6 separate regions of the Homo sapiens genome follow, and regions 2, 3, 4, 5 and 6 are each linked to region 1. The links are contacts of gene promoters, found by promoter capture Hi-C in blood cells and fetal thymus (Javierre and others, 2016). All regions are on one chromosome and are shown on one strand. The core of a region is centred on a gene start or on the middle of the fragment in contact, and the rest is flanking DNA. Distances in the headings are between cores, read along the strand shown. Region 1 holds the start of TMPO (thymopoietin). Region 2 has its middle 30 kb from the start of CDK17. Region 3 has its middle 41 kb from the start of CFAP54. Region 4 overlaps NR1H4 (nuclear receptor subfamily 1 group H member 4). Region 5 has its middle 7.6 kb from the start of CFAP54. Region 6 overlaps CFAP54 (cilia and flagella associated protein 54).

What was found. Contacts are between HindIII fragments. The CHiCAGO score rates a contact against its expected background, and 5 or more counts as called.
Region 2: a fragment that was not itself captured here is called in contact with the fragment with the promoter of TMPO in region 1 in 4 of 17 cell types (non-activated CD4 T cells, naive CD8 T cells, M0 macrophages and 1 more); the score reaches 7.4 in non-activated CD4 T cells.
Region 3: a contact is called between a fragment that was not itself captured here and the fragment with the promoter of TMPO in region 1, in 4 of 17 cell types (naive CD8 T cells, total CD4 T cells, non-activated CD4 T cells and 1 more). The highest score is 11.7, in naive CD8 T cells.
Region 4: a contact is called between a fragment that was not itself captured here and the fragment with the promoter of TMPO in region 1, in 1 of 17 cell types (M0 macrophages). The highest score is 6.3, in M0 macrophages.
Region 5: a fragment that was not itself captured here is called in contact with the fragment with the promoter of TMPO in region 1 in 1 of 17 cell types (naive CD4 T cells); the score reaches 6.7 in naive CD4 T cells.
Region 6: a contact is called between a fragment that was not itself captured here and the fragment with the promoter of TMPO in region 1, in 8 of 17 cell types (non-activated CD4 T cells, activated CD4 T cells, total CD8 T cells and 5 more). The highest score is 12.2, in non-activated CD4 T cells.

Annotation. Positions count from the first base shown.
Region 1 is chr12:98,513,222-98,517,480 of GRCh38, forward strand. It overlaps TMPO (thymopoietin), which reads left to right and starts at 2,369. Exons shown (of 9, transcript NM_001032283.3): 1 at 2,369-2,925. The coding sequence starts at 2,647. TMPO-AS1 (TMPO antisense RNA 1) reads right to left here and starts at 3,005. Exons shown (of 2, transcript NR_027157.1): 1 at 2,770-3,005; 2 at 1-2,676. RefSeq lists enhancers at 1,989-2,068, 2,329-2,518 and a silencer at 2,859-3,128. The HindIII fragment of the contact is 4,246 bases long and covers 291-4,259 here.
Region 2 is chr12:96,428,563-96,432,821 of GRCh38, forward strand. No RefSeq gene overlaps it. Among named protein-coding and RNA genes, the nearest start is that of CDK17, 30 kb to the left of the region's middle. The HindIII fragment of the contact is 3,020 bases long and covers 984-4,003 here.
Region 3 is chr12:96,446,569-96,450,827 of GRCh38, forward strand. No RefSeq gene overlaps it. Among named protein-coding and RNA genes, the nearest start is that of CFAP54, 41 kb to the right of the region's middle. The HindIII fragment of the contact is 5,525 bases long and covers 1-4,259 here.
Region 4 is chr12:100,564,136-100,568,394 of GRCh38, forward strand. NR1H4 (nuclear receptor subfamily 1 group H member 4) reads left to right here. Exons shown (of 11, transcript NM_001206979.2): 11 at 1-279. Among named protein-coding and RNA genes, the nearest start is that of GAS2L3, 7.4 kb to the right of the region's middle. The HindIII fragment of the contact is 1,939 bases long and covers 1,483-3,421 here.
Region 5 is chr12:96,479,883-96,484,141 of GRCh38, forward strand. No RefSeq gene overlaps it. Among named protein-coding and RNA genes, the nearest start is that of CFAP54, 7.6 kb to the right of the region's middle. The HindIII fragment of the contact is 8,484 bases long and covers 1-4,259 here.
Region 6 is chr12:96,499,660-96,503,918 of GRCh38, forward strand. CFAP54 (cilia and flagella associated protein 54) reads left to right here. Exons shown (of 68, transcript NM_001306084.2): 2 at 1,175-1,280; 3 at 4,227-4,259. Among named protein-coding and RNA genes, the nearest start is that of CFAP54, 12 kb to the left of the region's middle. RefSeq lists an enhancer at 990-2,189. The HindIII fragment of the contact is 1,044 bases long and covers 1,243-2,286 here.

The DNA of each region.
Region 1 (4,259 bases), core at 1,119-3,618:
GCAATGAGAAAGTTCAGCTGGAGCATGGTTTAGTCCAAGCAAGGCTGAGATTCTTTCAAGCAAAAAAGGAGACATTGAGATCAGAGAGTTGAAAATGTTTGTAAAAGAGTGATGAAAAGGACTGATCAGGGAATTTAAGTCAGGTGAGTTGCAAAATTATTACATGATGGCAGAAGCAGAAGAGTTGAGTTTTTTTAAGTGTTGGGGTTAATAGCGTGGAGGTCTTAATTAGGTAAGTGAGAGTACCATAAATTAGCTGGGAAAAAAAGGCTAGTGATTGACAATTGGGAAGCTTGAAACTGAGATTTCAACTGATGACAAGGTTCAGAATCTGACTGATACCGAAGTGGTTAAGACGCAAGAGAGGAACAAATTGTTGGAGATGAAGAGGTCAGAGGTCTAAGAGGCCAAGTGTTGGTGTTGCATGGGTCACCTACAAGCATGCTGAATTCAGATAGAATGTAGACAAGAGGGATGGTGAGGAAAACCTACGGCAAGCAGCTCTATAATTTCTGGAAAGTGACCAGGAGGCTCGTGGATGATGGCAGGAAGGAGAGTAGAAAGTGATTTAGCCAGAAGATATGAACTTCAAATATTTTTGAAGCAGAAAAGAGCAGAAATGGTTTGGAAGTAGCAATCAGGACCAAAGAGACCACCCAAACTCAATAGCCCAACCTCTTAGCCTTAGGGTACGCAGAATCTGAAAAGTGTAATCTCAATTTTGGAGCTCTACAGCAGTAAATCTGCAAGTAACCACCTGTAGCTAATGTCCAGGGATTAAAAAAAAGATAATGAAAATGTTTTTGCCCAGGAAACATTAATTTCAGGCGTATCTAGAATGCAGTTCTTGCATTATACGTACTGGGTTACCAGTCATTGCAAAGTCATGGTCCTTTGCCTCTCAGCTCAGTTCCCCTTCTGAAGATAAAAACATTTGCCTATGTGTCCAGGGAAGCTGTGAGGACAAAAAACCAAGCAACTTTTACAAGGGATCATAAAAACCTACCTAACAACTTGCTAATTAAAACCTGATTTTTAATTTGCATTATTGAGCTTAATACCATTGCTTAAATGTATGTGAATACTGAGATTTTTATAAAGGAATTAGTTACCTCTAGGAAAATAATTATCACTAAAAGAAATAATATCGCAATTTGAATAAAAGTAAGTCGCTTAAATCATAGGAAACATTTTTAGTGAAGGCGTTTGTTTTAAATGTATTCTAACCTAGCAATGTAGAAAGCAGGCAAACATTTAAAAAAAATTTAACCAGTTTCTAAAACATAGTTTGGAGCTCAGATTCTGGGGAAATGATTAACACACCCTACATCCAAGGTCTCCTTTCCTTTCTAGAAAGAAAGCATCTTTAAACATACATATTCATCAGAAATACAAATATTTGTCATCAGTGATACTAATTTCCAGGCAAACATTTTAATTGCAGTCAATGTATTAGATTCTACCAGGTTTTAATTTGGATCGGTAATACGGGTTTGATTAGGGTTCTAGGCCTAATTATAGGTCACTAGTCTTCCTTTAGGATTATGCACCATCTGTTATTTTAAATTGACCATTGAGGGGGTTCCCAAGGGTTCTCCTTCGTTTTGTTATCAAACGTTAGGTTTAGGATTCTTGCGGGTGGTGGGATCCAAAGCCAGAGACGGTTTCAACAAAAATGCAAGCGCGAATTTGTCTTGCGTCTGAACGCACTGTTCAAATTAAACAATTTAGACATGCCCCAACTATGACACTAAGAAGTGAATGGTATAGTACACTTTTGTCACAAATTCAAGGGTAATTTAAGTGCCCGATTGTAGAGGTCTGGCTTCCCCTGGGTTTCTGGAACAAAAGAAGCGTTCGCGAGGAGAGGGGTAACTCCCCGCCCTCCCCCTCCCAAAGTAAATCAAATCAAGGAATATGAGTGCCTGCAGACAAGCCTCGCTTCTTTTCTTCCCCTTCAGGGCTAGCGTTTGGGGAAGGCAAGGCTGCGGCTACTCTTGGAGCTTCAGTGTCCCGGGAGGAAGAAAGGCCCAGCCAAGGGTCCTCACACTGGCGTGGAATTCGGCGCGTTCGTAGGCGATCGACCCCAGAGACGAAAGCTGCTTCTCAAGCTGGGGGAGGGAGAGGAAACGGCGCACAAAAGCAGTACGACCTGTCCCTTATCGGCGTCTAAGGGGAAGGGTGGAGAAAACGAAAACAGAAGCGGGCCGGGAGCCTCGGCTCCCGCCCCAGCGCCTTTTAAACTGCGTTTCTACCTCCTCTCGCTCAGCGCGGCGGCTAATGGAACCCGCGCGAGCCGTCTCGCCAATCACCGCCGCGCTTCCTCCCGTCGCCCGCCAATGGCGGCGCGCGTTCTTGGGGCGTGGGCGAAGCAGGCTGCTCGCCTCCTGCCTGTAGTGTGTGGGCTGGGGTTGGTGCGAGCTTCCAGCTTGGCCGCAGTTGGTTCGTAGTTCGGCTCTGGGGTCTTTTGTGTCCGGGTCTGGCTTGGCTTTGTGTCCGCGAGTTTTTGTTCCGCTCCGCAGCGCTCTTCCCGGGCAGGAGCCGTGAGGCTCGGAGGCGGCAGCGCGGTCCCCGGCCAGGAGCAAGCGCGCCGGCGTGAGCGGCGGCGGCAAAGGCTGTGGGGAGGGGGCTTCGCAGATCCCCGAGATGCCGGAGTTCCTGGAAGACCCCTCGGTCCTGACAAAAGACAAGTTGAAGAGTGAGTTGGTCGCCAACAATGTGACGCTGCCGGCCGGGGAGCAGCGCAAAGACGTGTACGTCCAGCTCTACCTGCAGCACCTCACGGCTCGCAACCGGCCGCCGCTCCCCGCCGGCACCAACAGCAAGGGGCCCCCGGACTTCTCCAGTGACGAAGAGCGCGAGCCCACCCCGGTCCTCGGCTCTGGGGCCGCCGCCGCGGGCCGGAGCCGAGCAGCCGTCGGCAGGGTAAGGACGCGGGGCCGGGGCTACAAAGGCGGGCGTTTGGCGGTTGCCGCGCGCGCTCGCCGCCGTTTGCAGCCCCTCCCTCCCGGGCGCCCCCTCGGGCCTCCCAGGTGCGGGGCTGTCCCTGCGCCCCCTCGCGTCGCCCCTTCCCCGCGGGGCTGCAGGCGCCGGAGCGGAGAGGCCAGAAGTTGGGGCCGCGGGGTTCGCGTTCTTTGACGTGTGGGTCTGGGAGGTGTGGAGTTGCGTTGGCGGCGGTTGTTTTGCACGCAGTCGACGCCGCTTCCCTGGACCACCAGCCGCCTGCAGCGGGCGTTTAGACGGGGACTTCCGTGCCCTTTCGAAAGCTCTGGAGGGGTGGCCCCAAAATGCTATAGGTTAAGTTCGAGCGTTTTCCCGCTTTATTAACTGAAATGACTCGCAGCAGAGTCTCAGAGCGCTCCCTGGAGGGCAACTGATGACACTCTAATTTCTAACCAAAATTTGAAATGAGGAAATTCCCGCCTTTTTATACTTTTGCGTGTGGAGGGCTTTTTGAACCGTTTATGTTTTCTAGTTTGTTTTAATTTTTCCCAGCAACAGGCCATCTTTTGGCGGAACAGGTTCATGCCGAATTAAAAGGAGCATTTTAAACTATATTTTTAGGCGCCTATTATAATTTTTTAGTTTTTATTTATTTATTTTTTTAGATGGAGTGTCGCACTTGTTGCCCAGGCTGGAGTGCAATGGCGAGATCTCGGCTCACCGCAACCTCCACCTCCCGGGTTCAAGCGATTCTCCTGCCTCAGCCTCCCGAGTAGCTGGGATTACAGGCATGCGCCGCCACGCCCGGCTGATTTGTGTATTTTTTAGTAGAGACGGGGTTTCTCCAAGTTGGTCAGGCTGGTCTCGAACTCCTGACCTCAGGTGGTCCTCCCGCCTCGGCCTCACAAAGTGCTGGGATAACAGGCGTGAGCCACCGGGCCCGGCCCTGCAAACAAATATTTGAAAATTGCAGTTTGGATTGCGTTTTCCCCACATATTGGTAAATTTTGCTTGAGGAAACGAAAGACTTAGGATTCAGGAAAAATTTATTTCATGACATTCTGGTGCATCAGTATTGCAATTTGGAATGTCTGATCCTGGTTAAATCTCAAATCGGCTCCAGCAAAGCATGTTTTGTTTCAGAATAGTTTGCTTTTTTACCTGTGGATTTTAATATGCTTTTTGTGGGTTTGCTTATGCCTGCCGAGTTACCAGGCTTCAAATCGTAATAGGATGAAGCTAAAACTAGTAATTGGTGTAACATAAAATGCCTTGTAAGAGACAGTGAATGTGGTGTTTGGAGTTGTTGGGAATGA
Region 2 (4,259 bases), core at 1,244-3,743, 2.1 Mb before region 1:
TCAGATTGAGAATCAACTGACTATTCAAATTGTAAAAGAGCAGAAGTGTTTTGGATAGTCTCCACAAAAATACAAAAATTAGCTGGGCCTGGTGGCACACGCCTGTAATCCCAGCCTGAGGCAGGAGAATCGCTTAAACCCAGGAAGTGGAGGTCACAGTGAGCCAAGATTGCACCACTGCACTCCAGCCTGGACGACAGAGCAAGACTCGGTCTCAAATAAATAAATAAATAAATAAATAAATAAATAAATAAATAAATAAAGGATGTTATGCAATGTGATATGTAGAATACATAATCTTGTCCTAAAAATATAGTATAACAAATGTAGAATAACCAATGGTGTTAGGTTGTTTGTTTTTCACTTTACTCCTTTTTCTTGTGACAGCATTTCCAGTTTGCCTTGGAGCACTATTGGAGACGATCCCGGTGCTCCAAGAACCAAGGTACTTCGTTAGCCAAATAAGAGGTGAACACACAGCCAAAGCCAGACCAATCAGATGCTTGTCCCCAGGAGTTTGAATCTCAAGCAGAGAAACAAAAAGACTGAAAAAGATTACTTCTTGCTATTTGGATTCCCAAGGCCACCCTGGTCCTTGTCTTTTCTGAGCCTGGTTATTGTGCTGGGCTTTCCATTCTGTAAGCTACTAGCACACAGAGTGGAAAGTTTCTTTTCTGCTACTTTATCTGGTTTCCTTTACTTCCAATCAGCATTTTTATCTTGAATGCTTACGAGTGCCAGGCACTGTTATGAGGTCTTCGTGTAGATGACATCATTTGAGCTTCACACCAATTCTTCAATTATTATTTGGCTCACACCTGTAATCTCGGCACTTTCAGAGGCTGAGGCAGCAGGATTGCTTGAGTCCAGGAGTTCAAGACCAGCCTTGTCAACATAGTGAGACCCTGTCTATATAAAAATTAAAAATTATTTGACATTTGGCAGATGAAGATGAGCCTCAGAAAAAATAAGCGCCTTATCAAAGCTTACACAGCTAGCAAGACGTGGAATTGATGTTCACACTTAGGTAGTATGACTCCAGGTCTTTAGCGTCTAATCTCTGGGAAAGAATTCTTTAAGCAAACTCATTAAGTGGGTCTTTTGGTAATGAGGTGGTGAGGAGGGGACCCTGGAGGCTGGATTGGAGAAATGGAAACAAAAGGGAATTGTTCCCCATAGTAAATTAATAGAATTTTGGAGTTATTCTCTGATGTTCAGAAAAAGTAGGTTTAGAGATCCTGGGACTCAAAGAAGGCTACAGATGTTAAAAGGAGAGGAAGTCCTTGCAATGGCGACAGGCGGGAGTCACCGGAGAGAGAGAAGCCAAAGTGTCCATTAGGATATTTTCTGCTGTAAATAACAGAAAACTGAACTCAGAATGGGCATAAATAATACTATATTCAAAAAGTCCAAAGGTAGGAATGTCCAAGATTAAATATGTTGATGGGCCAACAATAAAGGTGAGGTTTTTTTTCCCCCAACTTTGCCTTTTTCACTCTGTGTTTTGTTTTCTCTGTCCTTAAGGAATGCCCCCTTAGTTATGAGAAGACTACAGCAGTTCCATGTATAACCTTTGGACAGGACAATTTTAGAGGAAGAGGTGCTCTCTGTTTATCTCTCTTGAAAGGAGGAAACCTTTTTCAGAAGCAGCCTGAAAGATTTCTTTTTACATTTAATTGGCCAGAATGCACCACATGCCAATAGCTAAACCAGTCACTGCCAAACATACTAATAAGAACAATTGGAATGGAGCTCTCAGCAGTAGATGTGGAAGAGGTTGGGATACTGAATAAAATCAGCGTTCAGCAAAGAGATGCTGGGTGCAGTGGCTCATGCTTAATCTCAGCACTTTGGGAGGCTAACATGGAAAGATTGCTTGAGCCCAGGAGTTCGAGACCAGCCTGGGCAACATAGTGAGATCTAAATAAATAAATAAATAAATAAATAAAAATTAGCTGAGCATGGTGGCAGGCACCTGTAGTCCTAGCTACTTGGGAGGCTGAGGGAGGAGGGTCACTTGAACCCAGGAGTTTGAGGCTGCAATGAGCTATGACTGCATCAGTGCACTCTAGCCTGGGCAATAGAGTGAGACCCTGTCTCACAAAAAAAAGAAGGAAAGAGAAATAGAGTGAACATTGAATAGGCAACTAATTTGTTGCCTGCAGAGTAAGAGACTTAGGATGCAGATGCAGAGGCACATGGGGTGAGATATAGAGGAAGGTGCATGGAACTTCCATACCCTTCATGAGTATACCACCAACCAGGACCCCTCCACGTGTTCAGCTATCTGGAAGCTCACTGAACTCTGTCCTTTTGTTTTTGTTTTTGGACACAGTTTCACTCTTGTCGCCCAGACTGGAGTGCAGTGGTACAATCTCAACTCATCGCAACCTTCGCCTCCAGGGTTCAAGCAATTCTCCTGCCTCAGCCTCCAGAGTAGCTGGAGTTACAGGCACCTGCCACCATGCCTGGCTAATTTTTTGTATTTTTAGTGGAGATGGGGTTTCACCATGTTGGCCAGGCTGCTCTCAAACTCCTGACCTCAAGTGATCCGTCCGCCTTGGCCTACCAGAGTGCTGGGATTACAGGCATGAGCAACCACGCCTGGCCCTCCTTTTGGGTTTTTATGGAACCTTTATGACGTCAGCATTCCTTTCCCCAGGGTATGGGCAGGATCCTCTCTGGGAAGAGTCCTAAGACCCACAGTCAGAAAGGTGGGGGTGGGGCAGGAAGAATTAGAGTCCTGCCTTGAAGCAGGGGAGAAGAAGGCAGGAGGTCAGAGGCCTGCCCCCGAGGCCTAACACACCCCACATTACACCAAAAGATTGTAATGGCTAGGCTCGGTGGCTCCTGTCTGTAATCCCAGCACTTTGGGAGGCCCAGGACTGGGGATCACCTGAGGTCAGAGTTTGAGATCCGCCTGGCCAACATGGTGAACCCCTGTCTCTACTAAAAATACAAAATTAGCCAGGTATGGTGGCACATGCCTGTAGTCCCAGCTACTCGGGAGGCTGAGGCAGGAGAATCGCTTGAACCCAGGAGGCAGAGGTTGTGTGGTAGGCCTGGTCTCACAGATGCAGACCTCTGTAACAACTGTTTCAGCACTGACTAAGTAGTTAAGTTAAATATTAAAAGCTGAAAGAGCCAGGATCCTTATACAAAGGCTGGAATGTAACAAAAGCCCACCAAGAGTTTTGGCTAGCTTTTCCTGGGCCTTGAAGCATGACAAAATAATGAAGCAATTCTTAACAGGACCCTTTTAGGATTAAACAAGTTTTATTGGGGGTCTGAAGAAACTCCCCAGGCCTCCACAAACAAGTTTATTGGGGCCTAAAGGAACTCCCCAAACCTTTATGATTTAGCAGGATACAAATAAGGGCAATTGGCTGGGCACAGTGGCTCACGCCTGTAATCCCAACACTTTGGGAGGCCAAGGCAGGCAGATCACAAGGTCAGGAGATCCAGACCATCCTGGCCAACATGGTGGAACCCCATCTCTACTAAGAATACAAAAATTAGCCGGACGTGGTGGTGCGTGCCTGTAATTCCAGCTACTCAGGAGGTTGAGGCAGGAGAATTGCTTGAACCCAGGACAGGGAGTGTTGCAGTCAGCCGAGATTGTGCCACTGCATTCCAGCCTGGGCTACAGGGCAAGACTCCATCTCGGAAAAAAAAAAATACAAAAATTAGCCGGGCATGGTGGCGCATGCCTGTAATCCCAGCTACTTGGGAGGCTGAGGCAGGAGAATCACTTGAATCCAGGAGGTGGAGGTTGCAGTGAGCCGAGATTGCGCCACTGCACTCCAGCCCGGGTGACAAGAGTGAAACTCTGTCTCAAAGAAAAAAGAGAGATAAAGGTCATCACCCCAGCACCTAGACCCATTTAGACTAAGTAAACTTACTAAGGCTTCAGAAAAAGATCTACAGGACTCAGACCCTAGTTACAGATTAAAAGAAGTTCATCACTTATGTCTTTAGATGAATATAGCTTAGAAAGTATATAAGCTTTGGAAAACTTTGTAATTTGGAGTTGGTCTGGCGATAATTTCCAGACCTTCTCCCTGTAACCAGTTACAGAAGTAAAAGTTCTCTTCCTCCCCAGTTCATCTGCATCTCGTTATTGGGCCATGAAAAATAGAAGCCTGGCCCTCAGTTTGGTCTGGTAACAGTTGCAGTGAGCTGAGATCTTGCCACTGCACTCCAGCCTGGGCAACAAGAGTGAAACTCCATCTCAAAAAAAAAAAAAAAAAAAAACAAAG
Region 3 (4,259 bases), core at 990-3,489, 2.1 Mb before region 1:
TCGAAGAAGTAGTTATGTCTGTGGTAACCTGGATTTTGCTGGGTATTAGAGATGCTATGGCCTGCTGAAAAATATAACTAAGAGTCTGGCATCTGAGGAATCTGACTGGCTTACTTTGTAAAAGTAATTAAACTTAACAGTGGAAGTTGCCACTTAAAATATCTTCTCAGTGAACTTAGTAATGTGGAGTAACAATACTGTATTGAAATCCACATTGAATGAGAGTTACTAATTTAGCAGATGGATGATTCTTCTTTATCACCTTCTACTTCCTGTTTCTTCTAATTTACTTACTTTTAATTTTCCCTAGTAAATTTCTGTATCTTCTGTACTTCATAGCTGTTATTAAAATAATATTCCATCAATCTTCCTTTCATACATTTGTGTGATTTTTATTTTTATGTATTTTTTTTTGAGACAGTGTCTCACTGTGTTGCCCAGGCTGGAGTGCAGTGGCGTGATCTCAGCTCACTGCAACCGCTGCCTCCCGGGTTCAAGCAATTCTCCTGCCTCAGCCTCCTGAGTAGCTGGGATTAGAGGCACGTACCACTATGCCCGGCTAATTTTTGTATTTTTAGTAGAGAAGGGGTTTCACCATGTTGACCAGGCTAATCTTGAATGCCTGGCCTCAAATGATCCTCCCACCTCGGCCTCCCAAAGTGCTAGGATTACAGGTATGGGCCACCGCGTCCGGCCTATTTTTAATATTTATACTGTAGAAACTCCTCTAGCTAAGCCATACATTGTAATTGCTGAAATTAATAGTGTAATAAAAAACAAGAAAACAAGTGTATGGAGCTTTAGAATACGAAGAGTTGATAAACAGACTGTGAGAATAAATAGGCAAGAATTCAAGGTTTCACTTTAATGGCATTTGGAGCAGCCACTGTAATAGACATCTGACAAGTAACAGATGTGTGGGGGCTGTGACATTCTCCTTTTTTTTTTTTTTTTTTTTTTTTTGGTTAAGGACTAATTATCTATTACTTTACAGACTTGCTAATATACTGTGGAGCTCCTAAAACAGCTTGGTTGATCAACCAGCAGTAGCATTATTAAACTAACAAACAAAAGAACTTGTACATGGATAAAGGTCTAATAATCTTTATTAAGGGATCTGTAGCCCTTTTTGTAACATTTACAAGAAGAATTTACCTTGTATTTTCAAAGATATATCACATATCTGAGGAAGTTAAAATAGCCCCCCCCCCTTTTTTTTTTACTTAATTAGCCTGAATCAGTAAAATGGTTTCCATGATCATCACTCCTCAACACAATTATGTCCCATTTTAATAGTGGGTTCTGGGTGAATTTGCCTTGATCAAATTTGAGGACAAAAATAGGGCATAAGATTAATTATTATTTTTATTTTTGAGATGGAGTCCTGCTCTGTCACCCAGGCTGGAGTGCAATGGTGCAATCTTGGCTCACTGCAGCCTCTGCCCCCCGGGTTCAAGCGATTCTCCTGCCTCAGCCTCCTGAGTAGCTGGGACTACAGGTGCCTGCCACCACGCCCTGCTAATTTTTGTAGTTTTAGTAGAGACGGGTTTTTGCCATGTTGGCCAGGCTGGTCTCAAACTCCCGACCTCAAGTGATCTGCCCACCTTGGCCTCCCAAAGTGCTGGGATTACAGGCATGAGCCACTGCTCCTGGCCAAGATTAATTTAATGTAGGCAAAATTTCAGCTGATCTTATATATCCAGTCAATTCAAAATATTTACCTTTTCAGAGTAAGCTATGAATATTTTATAACATATACTTTAATAGGCCTATAAAAATTATGAAAATGTCTTGGGTTTGCTTTGCTCCTACCTCCCCTGCCCTGTTCCTTATGTGTTGACGCCAAGGGTGCTCCTTAATAAACATCCTGCAAGCTATAAACTCTGTCTCAGTGCCTGCTTCCCAATGAATTCAGTCTACTACAGTGACTCTGTTTAAAAGCAGCAGTGACCACCTGGACTGTGAGTCACAGGAAAAGGATGGAGAATCGCATGTCATATGAGGAGTGACTGAAACGAGAGTGAGAAATAGGAGAGAAAAGTATAATACAATGATTAAATACATAGACTCAACTCCTAGCTTGACTATCCACTTACTGGGAGATCAAGGAAAGTGTTTTTTGTTTTGTTTTGTTTTTTTTGAGTCAGAGTCTCGCTCTGTCACCCAGGCTGGAGTGCAGTGGCGCGATCTCGGCTCACTGCAAGCTCTGCCTCCCAGGTTCAAGCCATTCTCCTGCCTCAGCCTCCCGAGTAGCTGGGATTACAGGTGACCGCCACCATGCCTGGCTAATTTTTGTATTTTTAGTAGAGACGGGGTTTCCCTATATTGGTCAGGCTGGTCTCGAACTCCTGACCTCAGGTGATCTGCCCACCTTGGCCTCCCAAAGTGCTGGGATTACAGGCATGAGTCACTGTGCCCGGCCGTTTTTGTTCTTTTTAATCCTATTTTTCTGCAGAGAATCTAGGTTTTTGTTTTGTTTTTGTTTTTTAATTCTACTTCTGCTGGGAATCTAGTTTTAATAGATAGTTATTAAATTGCAGTTTAATTTGTTAATCTATGGATTAATGTATTATCTCCCATAGGGGGCAAACTTTACTAATATTATGGAAAAAATAACTCAAAAAGTGACATAACTGTTATTACTACTGCAGAATGTGGAGACAGTGTTTGGGGACAGGTAAATCCTTCAGTAGCTTCTTTTTTTCTTTTTTCTTTCTTTTTTTGAGATAGAGTCTCACTCTGTCACTGAAGTTGGAGGGCAGTGGCAGGATATTGGCTCACTGCAACCTCCACCACCCAGGTTCAAGCAATTCTCCTGCCTCAGCCTCCCAAGTAGCTGGGATTACAGGTGCCTACCACCACACCCAGATAATTTTTTGTATTTTTAGTAGAGACAGGGTTTCACCGTGTTGGCCAGGCTGGTTTCAAACTTCTGACCTCAGGTGATCCACCTGCCTTGGCTTCCCAAAGTGCTGGGATTACAGGCATAAGCCACTGCACCAGCCTTCAGTAGCTTTTAATTGCACAATGTAGTCAACCATTTCATTTACCTATGCATGGGACTAGTCCATGAAAGTTAATAATGTTAATGGTGGTAAATGGTGTAGTACAATACTAAAGAATATCGGCTTTGACATCCAGAAGATAGGTCTCAAATTAACAACCTTATAGAACACATAATAGAACTAGAAAAACAAGAACAAACTAAACCTAAAGCTAGCAAAAGGGAAAAAAAAAACTATAATTAGAGCAGAACTAAACAAACTTGGACCAAGAAAACCATACAATGGATCAATGAAACACAAAGTTTGTTACTTGAAAGGATAAACAAGATTGAGGCTGGGCACGGTGGCTCACGCCTATAATCCCAGCACTTTGGGAGGCTGAGGTGGACGATCACCTAAGGTCAGGAGGTCAAGATCAGCCTGGTCAACATGGTGAAACCCCGTCTCTACTAAAAAATACAAAAAATTACCTGTGTGTGGTAGTGGGCGCCTGTAATCCCAGCTACTCAGGAGACTGAGGCAAGGAGAATTGCTTGAATCCGGGAGGCGGAGGTTGCAATGAGCCAAGATCATGCCACTGCACTCCAGCCTGGGCGACAGTGAGACTCCGTCTCAAAAACAACAACAACAGGCCAGGTGCGGTGGCTCACGCCTGTAATCCCAGCACTTTGGGAGGCTGAGGCGGGTGGATCATGAAGTCAGGAGATCGAGACCATCCTGGCTAACACGGTGAAACCCCGTCTCTACTAACAATACAAAAAAAAATTAGCTGGGCGTGGTGGCAGGCACCTGTCGTCCCAGCTACTCAGGAGGCTGAGACAGGAGAATGGCGTGAACCCCGGAGGCAGAGCTTGCAGTGAGCCGAGATCGCGCCACTTCACTCCAGCCTGGGTGACAGAGCGAGACTCCGTCTCAAAAAAAAAAAATAAAACAACAACAACAACAACAATACAAGACGATAGACTGCTAGCTGGATTAACAAAAAAAAGAAAAAAAGGAGAGAGAGAGAGAAGATTAAAATAAGCACAATCAGAAATGACAAAAGTGACATTGCAACTGATCCCATAGATATGCAAAAGATCCTCAGAGACTACTACAAACATCTCTATGTGCACAAACTAGAAAATCTAGAGGAAATGGATAAATTCCTGGAAACATGTAATCTCCTAAGATTGAATCAAAAGAAAGTGAAAACCTGGACAGATCAATAACAAGTTATGAAATAGAATCCAACCAAAAAAGTCCTAGACCAGA
Region 4 (4,259 bases), core at 1,202-3,701, 2.1 Mb after region 1:
GTCTTGAGGCAGGATTCACAAATTCAGAGTATGCAGCTAACTGCAGTGATGGGACCTTCGCTTTCCTCTCTTAAAAGTGAGGAAATGATTGGCTTCATTGTATCCAATCATCTTTCTGTTTTGTTTTGCTTTTGAAAACATTCCTACAGCTGGGAGCACAGCTGCTGTATACTTCCCCCAAAGCAGGAATTAGTTCATTTCCTTCCTTCATTGTTACACTGTTGCATTCTTCTCCCTATTATCCTTTGGTGAATACAATAAAACACCTTCTATAAGTAATGGGCGTATATCTCCCTTTCTCCTAAAGTTAGCCAAAGTGGAGCATGATTAGCAAGCAGTTTTTTTGTATCAAAATACTAGGACAACCCTGGAATTCTAAAAATAACCAGTCAGTGGAAAACTGTGTTGAGGCTAGCATCAATTGGATTCTGATACAACAAAAATGTCTTGAGTTCCTAGTAAGTACAAGATTCATTTGCTAAACTCCATGGAGGATACAAAAATGATTAAGATCCAGTAACAGAGCTGAGCCCAATTGACACCTGTAATCCCAGCACTTTGGGAGACTGAGGCTGGAGGATTGCTTGAACCCAGGAGTTTGAGACCAGCCTGGGCAACATAGGGGAAACCCTGTCTCTACAAAAAATAAAAAAGAATAAAATCAGCCAGGGGCTGTGGCTTGCACCTGTGGTGGTCCCAGCAACTTGGGAGGCTGAAGCAAGAGGATTGCTTGAGCCCCAGAGATGGAGGCTGCATTGAGTCATGATCGCACCACTGCACTCCAGCCTGGGCAACAGAGCGACACCCTGTCTTCAAAAAAAGAGAAAGAAAAAAACCCAGTAACTGCCTGGAGGGAGTTATAAAGGCTGCAGCGGAACTTGCTGTGGGTTTACCCTGGAACTTGGGAAAGTTTCATACAGGAGATGGTACTTCTGCTGGGCTTCAAGGGATAGCCCCAAATTCAGTGGGTCCAGGTAGGAGGGAAGGGGTTCAAGGTGAAAGGGGTGGCAGGAGCAACAGAAGGAAGGTGGTGAGTTGTACAGATGTTAAAAGACGATACGTAATCTGGGGAGGGAGGGAGGATGCACAGTCTCTTTCTAAATCTCAATTTCACCATTGTAAAATGCAGAGATCAGCATTTATTGCATAAGGGGATTTAGCTTATTAATGAAGAGTAAGTGGGAAGTAGCAGGCCCACCAGGGAGAGGGTTGGTGAGGAAAGGACATTGAAGAAAGGAGTAAATTTCAGTTTGGTGTCTCCAGATCTCATGCCGTCTGCGCAGACAGCAGTGAGAAATGAGCCTGGAACTGGTGGGGCACTGGAGACAGAGCAAGAAGCTTAATCCTCTAGATCTGCATTTATTCAAGTGGTTAAGACCTTGTAATAGCAAACAATAATGCTCATCACATGGAAAACTAATTGTGATACTATAAGAAATACATATTGTGTTTTTGTTCCTGGTTTCTGACACAGCTTCTAAAAGCTTTGGGAATTCCTGAGTGATAGGGGTAATAGGAGCAACTCTGGGTAAAAATAAAATACAAATTACAAGTGCTATGAAACAGAAGTATTTCCCTTGCTCTGATATGCACTTTTATGGGTCATTTTCCACACTAGTAGAGTGAGTTTTTTTTCTAAAATGCAAATCTGGTTACATGTTCCCTGTGCTACTTGATTTCCCATTGACTTCAGCAGAGACCCAGAACTCCTTGGGAGAGCAGTTGGCTATTGAGACCTCCTACCGGTTTTGTCTCCTGCCCTACCTATATTCTAGGCTTCCAAATAAAATGCATTCCCCAGAGGTCTATCTTCTCTTACACCAAATGAGAAAGAAAGTATAGAGACAGGGGAAAAGAAATGGGTTTGCTTGTTTTCTTCCTTTTCCTTTCCACCCCAGGTCTCAAGTAGGGGTGATTTTGTGTCTCAGGGGGACATTTGGCAATGTCTGGAGACACTTTTGGTTTTCATAACTTGGAGATAGAGGTGCTACTGGCCTCTAGGGGGTAGGAGCTAGTGATGATGCTAAACTTCCTACAATGCACAGAATAGCCTCCCTCAGCAATTATCTGGCCCAAAATGTTAACAGTGCTGAGGTTTAGAAACCCTGCTCTCTCCCATCCTGTCTTAGTTCATTCCGGCTGCTGTAAAAATAGACCATAAACTGGGTAGCTTATAAACAACAGGAATTGATTCCTTACAGTTCTGGGAAGTCCAAGATGAAGGCACTGGCAGATTCAACGTCTGGTGAGGACTTCCTGGTTCCTAGATGGCATCTTCTAGATGTGCCTGCTAGCTCTCTTGGGTCACTTTTATAAGGGCACTAATCCCAGTCACGAGGCTTCACCTTCATGGCCTAATCACCTCTCAAAGGCCCTACCTCCTAATACTATCAATTTAAGGGTTAGGATTTCAACATATGAATTCTGGGGGGACACAAATATTCAGACCATAGCATATCCCAAGAAAATATGACTCCTACACTGTACTCTCTCTTGACCTGATCTAGCATCTAGCTTCAACATAATTCTCATGGTGGTGGTTTTCTAGTTCATAACAACATTGTGGACAGTCATTTTATTAGTGAATCCAAATACTGGATATGAGCAACTGTTTTGAAATTTTGTTTTCTTTCTTTGTTGTTCAGAATGAGAAACTGATTTCACTCATTGATCCTATAGCAGCAGAATTTTACTTTTCCCCAGATTTTTACAAAATTACAATTTATTATTTTTTCCCTTATGTGAAATAATAAATTCAGTACACTATCACATATCACATTTGGGTGTTAGCTGACTTATTTTTTGGACACTCAGAATCCACTGCCTTTACTTCTGGAAGAGTACTCTGATTTCCTCAGGGGAACCACCCCCTTCCCATCTCTTAGTCCATATGTTTTAAGTGGAGTTGATTCCACCCCCAGCTCCAGAGTTGGAAGTGTGATTCAGGCATAGCTAATCAGAATATCACATATCTTAGGTCACAGTCATTGGTTTAGAATTGGGCAGGTGACTTATTTAAAGAAAATAAGATATACTGCTGGAAGAATTTTTAGGAGGAAGGCAGTGTCAGTTACATGCCTCTGTGTGTGTGTGTGTATTAATTGTTCCAAATTCTTCACTCTCTCCCTGTAGTAGAATTATATGGCCAGGTTATTTGACTCGTGAATTTGCAGTGCCTCTCACAGGAGTAGGCAGAACAGACTTCCCCACCCACTGATGTTGAGCTTGTCCTTGTGGCTTGCTTTTGGCAATAGCACGTGGGTGGAAGTGAGAGTGTCAGTTCCAAGCTATGGCCTTAAGAGACATCACATGTTTCTGCTGCTGCTCTTGCACTTCTGCTATCTGCCATGAGAAGGGAATGCCCTGGATAGTTGCAAGTCTCAGAATGAGAGACAGAAGGAGTACACCTAAACCCAACTTAAGCTTGAAGCAGCATCCCTCCTGTCCACCATGAGCTAACATGCAGATCGACAAACAAGAAAAATCAATGTTTATTACTGTAAGCCACTGAAAGTTAGGAGTTGTTTGTGATACAGCATTATCACAGCAACAGTCTAGCTAATATATCCTATTTGTGTTCAGATCTGTTCCCTTCCTTCCCTTCTCTGTTCATCTAGGGAGGGAGGGCTAACCCCTGACAGGCTGCATTTTATAGGTTTCTCTGTTAACTGGCTTTGGCCAGTTTCAATCAATGGAAAGTATTGATGGGAGACTGGAGGATGAGAAGAAGGGAAAAGCCAGGGTATTTCTCCCTCACTCTCTCTGCCTCAGATTGTATCTCTGGTAAAGATTGCATCTCCTACATGGCTCCCAGTCCCACTGGGAAACTCCCTCCTGCCCCAGTGCTGATGGCCCTGGTTTCTAAACTCCTCTTTTGAACCCTAAGCCCTAGAATTGCAGTGGCTTCCTACTGTTGCTAATCTCTGAGTTGTCTTACCTGCTCCTGTTTACCTTCTCTTGCAAAACCAAGTCTGTGTTAAGTTCCTGCTTTTTGATGCACCTATAGTGGTTTGTGTTTTCTGACTTGAGAACTATATAGAATGACTCACTTTTTTTTGGTTAGACTCAAACCTAAGAGAATGAAGAACTAGAACTTCTGGAAACCATCATATAACCAGGAGGAACCTGAGAATAAAGTCAACATGAAAATCAGAGCCAATAGAGACTGGATTTTGGTGACAATATCTGAAATCTTAGATCAAGCTGTGCCTAAAGTTAGAGAGTTCTATCCTGAGATTTTAATTACATAAGCCAATACC
Region 5 (4,259 bases), core at 1,304-3,803, 2.0 Mb before region 1:
TAAACACAAATATTATAGTATCATTTTTGTGGTACATATAGATAAATGTTGGCGTACTGTTTACATTATATTGCAATTTTTTGATTTAAAAAAGTCTTAAAAATATGTTTATGTTAAGACATTAAAACCCACTACATTCCCTTTGGGTGCTGAGTAGTATTCAATACTATAGCTAAACTATAGTTTATCTATGCATTACTCTATTGATGTACATTTATATTGTGTTTTTTTGTTTTTGTTTTTGAGACAGAGTTTCACTCTTGTTGCCCAGGCTGGAGTACAATGGCGCGATCTCGGCTCATTGCAACCTCCGCCTCCTGGGTTCAAACAATTCTCCTGCCTCAGCCTCCCGAATGGCTGGGATTACGGGCATGCACCACCACACCCAGCTAATTTTGTATTTTTAGTAGAGATGGGGTTTCTCCATGTTGGTCAGGCTGGTCTCGAACTCCTGACCTCAGGTGATCTGCCTGCCTTGGCCTCCCAAAGTGCTGGGATTACAGGTGTGAGCCACCGCACCCAGTGATTGTTTTTAATGCTTTACTATTGTAAGCATTTAAGGTTAGCAATAAACATCTGCTGTATGTTCTGTATATATCTGTATATGCATCTTTATGCATATGTATGATTTCTAAAGCTGATTTCAAGAAATCAAGAAATAAAATTTCTTTTTTTTTTTTTTGGGATGGAGTTTTGCTCTTGTTGCCCCGATTGGAGTGCAGTGGTGTGATGTCGGCTCATTCCAACCTCCACCTCCCTGGTTCAAGTGATTCTCCTGTCTCAGCCTCCCAAGTAGATGGGATTACAGGTGCCCGCTGCCACGCCTGGCTAATTTTGTATTTTTAGTAGAGACGGAGTTTCACCATGTTGGCCAGGCTGGTGTCGAACTCCTGACCTCAGGTGATCCACCCGCCTTCACCTCCCAAAGTGCTGAGATTACAGGTGTGAACCACTGCACCTGGCCCAAGAAATAAAACTTCTAGGTGATAGGGTACAATAGTTGTAGTAAAGGGTTGGCACCTCCTACGAAAACCTCCAATCCCAGTACCTGAAACAAGGTGAAAGTTTATTTATTTATTTACTTATGTTTGTTTATTTTATTTTATTTTTCGAGATGGAGTCTTGCTCTGTCGTCAAGCTGGAGTGCAGTGGTGCCATCTCAGCTCACTACAACCTCTGCCTCCCGGGTTCAAGCGATTCTCCTGCCTCAGCCTCCTAAGTAGCTGGGATTACAGGCACGCATGACTACGCCCGGCTAATTTTTTGTATTTTAGTAGAGACGGGGTTTTACCATGTTGGCCAAGACGGTCTCAATCTCCTGACCTCATGATCCGCCCTCCTCAGCCTCCCAAAGTGTTGGGATTACAGGCGTGAGCCACCGCGCCTGTCCGCTGAAAGTTTATTTTCCTCTCACATAGTAAGTTGGGTGAGTGGTCTAGGACTCATACCAGGGCTTCACAGTGTGAAGGAATCCAGGCTCCTTCCATCTTGCTGCTCTCTTTTCCTTAGGGTGTTGCTGGCATTATCATCCAAGAGGACTTGTATACTAGACACACCTTATGCAAAGCCTTGGGTTTTCTGTCTTCACTGACTTTCTAGGCCCTCTACCACTTACTGCTTTCCAGCAACTGCTCTGATGACTGCCTCCAGGTTGGAGAAACCCCATCCTGGCCTGCTTGGTTCCACCACCTGAGGCCACTATGTGGCGTTTTTGGCTCCTTTCACCACTTTAAAAAAAATATTGAGATGGGGTCTCACTATGTTGCCAAGGTTGTACTTGAACTCTTGGGTTCAAATGATCCTCCCACCTTGGCCTCCTAAGTAGCTGGGACTATAGCCATGTGCCACTGTGCCCAGTTCCTTTCACTGCTTTTGTTGTTGTTGTTGTTGTTTTTGTTGTTGTTGAGATGGAGTCTTGCTCTGTCACCCAGGCTGGAGTGCAGTGGCATGATCTCAGCTCACTGCAACCTCCACCTCCTGGGTTCAAGTGATTCTCCTGCTTCAGCCTCCCGAGTAGCTGGAATTACAGGCACCTGCCACCACTCCTGGCTAATTGTTATATTTTTAGCAGAGATGGGGTTTCACATGTTGGCCAGGCTGGTTTTGAACTCCTGGTCTCGGGTGATCTTCCCGCCTTGGCCTCCCAAAGTGTTGGGATTGTAGGTGTGAGCCACCGTGCCTGGCCCTTTCACTGCTTTTGAACTGGGATGAAACACTATATCACAAGGTATGAGATTTGGCATCGTCAGTAGCTGCTGAAGGGGCAAGGTGATCCAACCTGGAAGTAGAGTGGTGAATCTTGACCAGGAGAAGGGCAGCAGGTATATTTTCTCTCTACCTTTTCCTCTTACAAACTCCTCTAAGATGTAGTATATAGAGATGTAGATAGCCTGTTGGGACACATCCCGCATGACTGAGCAACTCGTTGTGTTTCTTCATGATGTGAAGAAGGCCGGCATTGTACTTCTTTTCATCTGTCCCTGTCCCACTTTCTTTTCTCTTCATTCTTGCTTCACGGAAATTACACTACTAAGTGAAGCACTAGCACTTAAGCCTTTGCCTCAAACTCTTGTTTTTTAGGAAACTCAGGTTAACACAATAAAGTGAGGTGTAAAAAGTGGACACTCGGCTGGGCATGGTAGCTCACGCCTGTAATCCCAGCAGTTTGGGAGGCCGAGGCGGGTAGATCACCTGAGGTAGGGAGTTCGAGACCAGCCTGACCAACATGGAGAAACCCCGTGGTGGTGCATGCCTGTAATCCCAGCTACTTGGGAGGCTGAGGCAGGAGAATCCCTTGAACTGGGGAGGCAGAGGTTGTGGTGAGCCGAAATAGCACCATTGCACTCCAGCCTGGGCAACAAGAGCAAAACTCCATCTAAAAAGAAAAAAAAAAAAAAGAAAAAAAATTGGACACTCAGGATTAGATTTTAGAGTTGAATTGTCACCTATCTGAAGGCAACAGGGACCTGATTGTCTTAGAGCAGTTAATTCACAACTGAAGGCATGCTCTGAAAGACAGTGCCTCTACTGCAGCTTAGGACAGCTGCAGGGTAGATTTTGCTAAAGACCGGGTCCAGGATCTGATTATACAGCAGAAAGTCCAAGAAAAGGTGGAGGCCGAGAGACCTGAAGTGGAAACATTTAGGTAGACAAGCCCAAGAACTTTGAACCTCTAAATTTCTCTGAGCCCCCTATACTTGCAAAAATAGCCCCTAACCATTTGCCAGAGAAAAACAATCTCTGCTTGCCTGGGGGAACATATAATGACCTAATCTGAAGCAGGTGCCTTTCATGGTGAGACTTGTTTTCCTCAAGATGTGCCCCCAATACACTTCATTGCCTTCTGGCTGGAAAGGAAAGTCAGGTTTCAGCACAGCCTGAGCAGGAAATTACAAGCTCTGCTCTAAGAAGAAATTGCTTACATGGCAAAGGAATTGTGGGATCTGGCTAATAAGTAGTAGCTGAAACTGCAGAGAACATGTGTAGGAGTGAGTCTTGAATATGTTAGACCGGGGCACAGAATGCAAAAGTGACGAGGGTAGAATTCATTAATATGGGAATACTCACCCATGATTCAGAATTCCTAATAACTTAATGAGATGACTTCTTGAAGCATTGATCTGATAATGTTCCACATCAAATGAAGTGGAGATGACAGAACTTCCTTGATATCATATTGAAGAAAAGGTCGGAAGGCTCAAGGAAGTAGGGATGTTATACTGGATTCATTGCATATGTCCTGAGAACCCAGCACCTGGTTTACGGATTAAGAAAATGGGGCACAATGAGGTTAAGTAACTTGGAAGAAGTGAGGATTCAAACCATGCTCTTTGGCCTCAGAATTTGGGCGTTTATTTATTTATGACACAGAGTTTTGCTCTGTTGCCCAGGCTGGAGTGCAATGGTGCCATCTTGGCTCACTGCAAAGTCTGCCTCCTGAGTTCAAGCGATTCTCCTGCCTCAGCCTCCTGAGCAGCTGGGCTTACAGGCACCTGCCACCACGCCCAGCTAATTTTGTGTTTTTAGTAGAGACTAGGTTTCACCATGTTGGTCAGGCTGTTCTCGAATTTCTGGCCTCAAGTGATCTGCCTGCCTCCGCCTCCCAAAGTGCTGGTGATAGGGAAGGTTGGAAGGGAAGTGCTGGGAAAGGAAGGGCATGGTCCCTGGTGAAGGCTCCATCCCCGGCCTGTGCCCATGGACCTAGGTGAGGACAGGCACTTCTGCCTTCATGCCCAAATGTTGCATTTGCCAAGACAACC
Region 6 (4,259 bases), core at 515-3,014, 2.0 Mb before region 1:
ATCGGGCTGGGAGCGGTGGCTCATGCCTGTAATACTAGCACTTTGGGTGGCCTAGGCGGGTGGATTACCTGAGGTCAGGAGTTTGAGACCAGCCTGGCCCACATGGTGAAACCCTGTCTCTACTAAAAATACAACAATCAGCCAGGCATGGTGGTGCACGCCTGTAATCCCAGCTACTCGGGAGGCTGAGGAAGGAGAATTGCTTGAACCCCAGAGGTGGAGGTTGCAGTGAGCCAAGATCGTGCCACTGCACTCCAGCCTGTGTGACAGGAGCAAGACTCCATCTCAAAAACAAAACAAAACAAAACAAAACAAAACAAAACAAAAAAAACCGTGCGCATCAGTATTTCTAGCAGCCTTATTCATAATTGCCAAAACTTGTAAGCAACCAAGATGTCATTCAGCATGTGCGTGGATAAATAAACTGTAATGCATCCAGACAATGGGATATTATTCAGTGCTAAAAAGAAATGAGCTATCAAGCCATGAAAAGACATGGAGGAAACTTAGATGCATATTGCTAAGTGAAAGAAGCCAATCTGAAAAGGCTTCCTACTATATGATTCCAACTATGACATTTTGGAAAAGGCATGACTATGGAGACAGTAAAAATATCAGTGGTTAACAGAGATTAAGCGGGAAAGGAGGGATGAATAAGTGGAGCACGGAGGATTTTTAGGATAGTGAATCTACTCTCTGATATTTTCACAGTGGATAGACATTATATACATTTGTCCAAACTCATGGAATGGATGACACCAACAGTGAACCCTAAACTATGGACTTTGGGTGATAATGATGTGTCAATGTAGGTTCATCACAACAAAGGTACCATTCTAGTGGAGATGTTGATAATGGGGAGGGCTGTGCATGTTTGGGGGCACAGGGTATATATGGGAAATCTCAGAATCTTCTGCTCAATTCTGTTGTGAACTTAAAATTGCTCTATGAAGTAAAGTATCTAAAAAAAATATGTAAAGGGCTGCAATCAATGCTTGGTACATAGGAAGCAATAATTTTAACTGTAATTACATTTATTATTAATAATTGGACATTAACAATAAGGCACATTGGAAAGGCTTTAGCATAAGGTAAGTTTTAAAGGATTGCTTGCAAATTAATTGGGGTTTCCTGCAGACTTTGACAATGTCGTTTTATTTTATGATTTTTACAGTGCCACTTCTTTGTTTAATATCTGGACTAAATACGCCCCCAGGCTGCCAGCAGACTATTACAACGAAAAGCTTCTGAAGGTTGGAGATAGCCTTTGTCAAATGAAAGTAAGTGCCTCTGCAGGAAAGAGCCAAAAAGAAGTTCATTTGGCTAATTATTATTACAGTATTTAGTCTGATACCCTTCCTATTTTACATGTTTTGATTTTTCTCTTAGAAAAAAATAAATGAGTACATAAAAATTTTAATAAGGCACAGTAACCAAAAAAGTGTTGCTTTTTAATTTTGTAGTTGAGATTTCCCAGAGGTGAGACATTCCTGAACAGCCAGGCAGCTGGCTGTGGATGGGCAGGAGGGTGGCCGGGTTAACAGAGGGTGTGGTAGGCACACAACAGGAAATGCTGAATCATCGTGTTCCTACCTTATACAAAGGAGCCCAGACACCACTTCCTGTTGTTTTTCATATGGCTGGCCTTGCCCAGTGGTCAACCTTCAGGGCTCTTGGCCTTGCAGCTCTGTTGCTTGCTTCAGTGCCCTGTTTATTAAACTCTTTCAACTCTTTCTTAATGTTTTGCTGTATGTAATTATAACAGTCATTCCATACATACCCTGTTTCTTGCTCAGTATTGTATTCCAGAATGAGTTTGTGTCCTTCTTTTAGTTCTACCTGAATGTCTAGGGCTTGGAATGCTGTGGACCGGTGGACTTGGTTTGCTGAGACCACAGCATGGCTGGGTTTTCCATTAATGATCATGTGAGTTTCCCCCTTAAACTCTGGCCTAGGTCCAGATTATTCTAAGTTATGTGAACGTCAGACAATGGGATCTTAGGCCAGCCGTGGGCAGTGTTCAGTGTTTTCTCAATCTTCAGTTTCTCAACTTCATTTTTCCCCTCTCTGTTTTCTGGACTTTAATCCTCTTGGTCTGGGAGACAAATTTACCAAATAGAGGATATGAGTGGTGGAACTTCATAATGAAGAACTAAGATCTATTTTCTTCTGCCAAAACTAGAGAATAACCATAGTTCCACATAAATGGACCATGGGTCTTAGAAACTTGAAAATACAGGGCTTGGTAAGCTACAGAAAAGAAACCTGGGTGAGATTCAACTTGGAAGCTTTATTCATGTAAGTGGAATAAGAGTTTTGACAAGAATTACAAGATAGCCCCCTTTCCATCCTTACACTTTTCAGTATAAGAAGCTGGTAATACAAATAAAAAGCACAGTGTAGGGTTGTTTGAGAAATGTCTGTGTGGGTGGAGTGGATATTAGTGGAGGGAGGAGAGAGGTGTATGTTAGAAGCTGATAAAGCAAGTTAAAGATGGCTGGTAGCTAAGGATTCAGAATGTTTTAGATAGAAAGGCCTAGATAGGATATTTTAATATTTAATTAAAGGAACAAAGAAAAAGTTTTATCTACTTTTCACTGAAGGGAATGTTGGCCAGGCTGGGCATGGTGGCTCACACCTGTAATCCCAGAACTTTGGTAGGCTGAGGAGGGCAGATTGCTTGCTTGAGCCCAGGAGTTTGAGACAAGCCTGGGTAACATGGCGAAACACTGTCCCTAAAAAAAAAAAAAAAAAAAAAAAGGTATTTATAATTCTGAAAATGAACTTGTTACTTTGGTTTCTAGGCTCTATTTTTATTTTAGTTGTAGTAAAGATCATCTTGTGGAAAATTTTTTTTAAACCTAGATTTGAATTTATTATATGACTCAAGTTAGAGCAGAAAAGATTCAGGATTAGTGAGCAAAAACAAATCTTTAATAGAAATTTAAACAAAACAGTGTTTGACTGAAGATGCCTCCCAAGGGGCTAGGTAACTGGACAGCCAGTTCAACCTTGGGCAGTTGCTTTTCCTGGGGATGAAGTTGTGGGGGAGGGAGCTGAGGAAGGGTTGCAAGTGACTCATTTTGAAAGCACTGCTTATGTCCCCTGCCCTGAAACCCTCCAGGTAACTGAGCCCTGTGGGTTACAGAAATGGGGCATCTGATTCTGTAATGGGAACATAAGCATGAATTTGAATGAATAAAAATCCCACTGCTCAGATGCTTTTTATTTGTCCTGATGCAGCTTTAGAGTGTTGACAGATGAAAGAGAGGCAAGTAGCTCACCTCACTCTGCAGTTTTTTCTTTTATTTTCTCTTCTTTGGTTCCCTCTTTCTTCCTCTCTTCCTTCCTCTCTCCCTCCCTCTCCCTTCCTTTCCTTCCTCTCTCCCTCCCTTCCTTTCTCTCTCTCTCTTTCTTTCTTTCTCTTTCTTTCTTTCTCTCTCTCTCCTTCCTTCCTTCTTTCTCGCTTTCTCTCTCTCCTCTTTCTTTCTTTCCCTCCCTCCCTTTATTTTTTCCTTCCTCCTTCCCTCCCTTTCTTTCTCTTTCTTCCTTTCCTTTCCTTTTTTTTCCTTCCTTTCTTTCTCTCTCTCTCTTTCACTTCCTTTCTTCCCCCTTCCTTTCCTTTCCCCTTCTCTTCCCTTTTCTTTTCCTTTCCTTTCCCTTCCCCTTCTTTCCCTTCCTTCCTTCCTGCCTTCCTCCCTCCCTCTCTCCCTTCCCTCCTTCCTTCCTTTCCCTTCCTCCCTTCCTCTCTCCCTCCCTCCCTCCCTCCCTTCCTTCTTTCCTTCCTTCCTTTGTTTCTCTCTCGCTCGCTCGCTCTTCGTTTCTTTTCTTTTTCGAGCCTATGAGGTATCAGAGAAGCAAGACTACTCATCCACCTCTCTAGGTATGTGGGTTACCATGATCTGATGATGCTGAATTTTGGAACCTGGGTTTTGAGTATTTGTAGGTATTACCATGCACAGTGCCATAGTAAATATTCTCATCCTTGTGGTCATGATGGTCCCATCTCACATAGGCTCATTGTGAGGAGAATTAGATGAAATAATGCACATACATTGTATAGTGCAGTGTCTCTCACATACTATGTTTTTGGAAAATGGAGCCAGTAGTAATGGTATAATTGTAATAATCAACCTTGATACTATTAGGAATAATATGAATATTACCTAATAATGATAAGCTAAATGATATTTTGGAACTTTAATCAAGTACTCCTTTTGTTTCAGGAATACAAACTGGCCCTTTTACAATGCTATGGA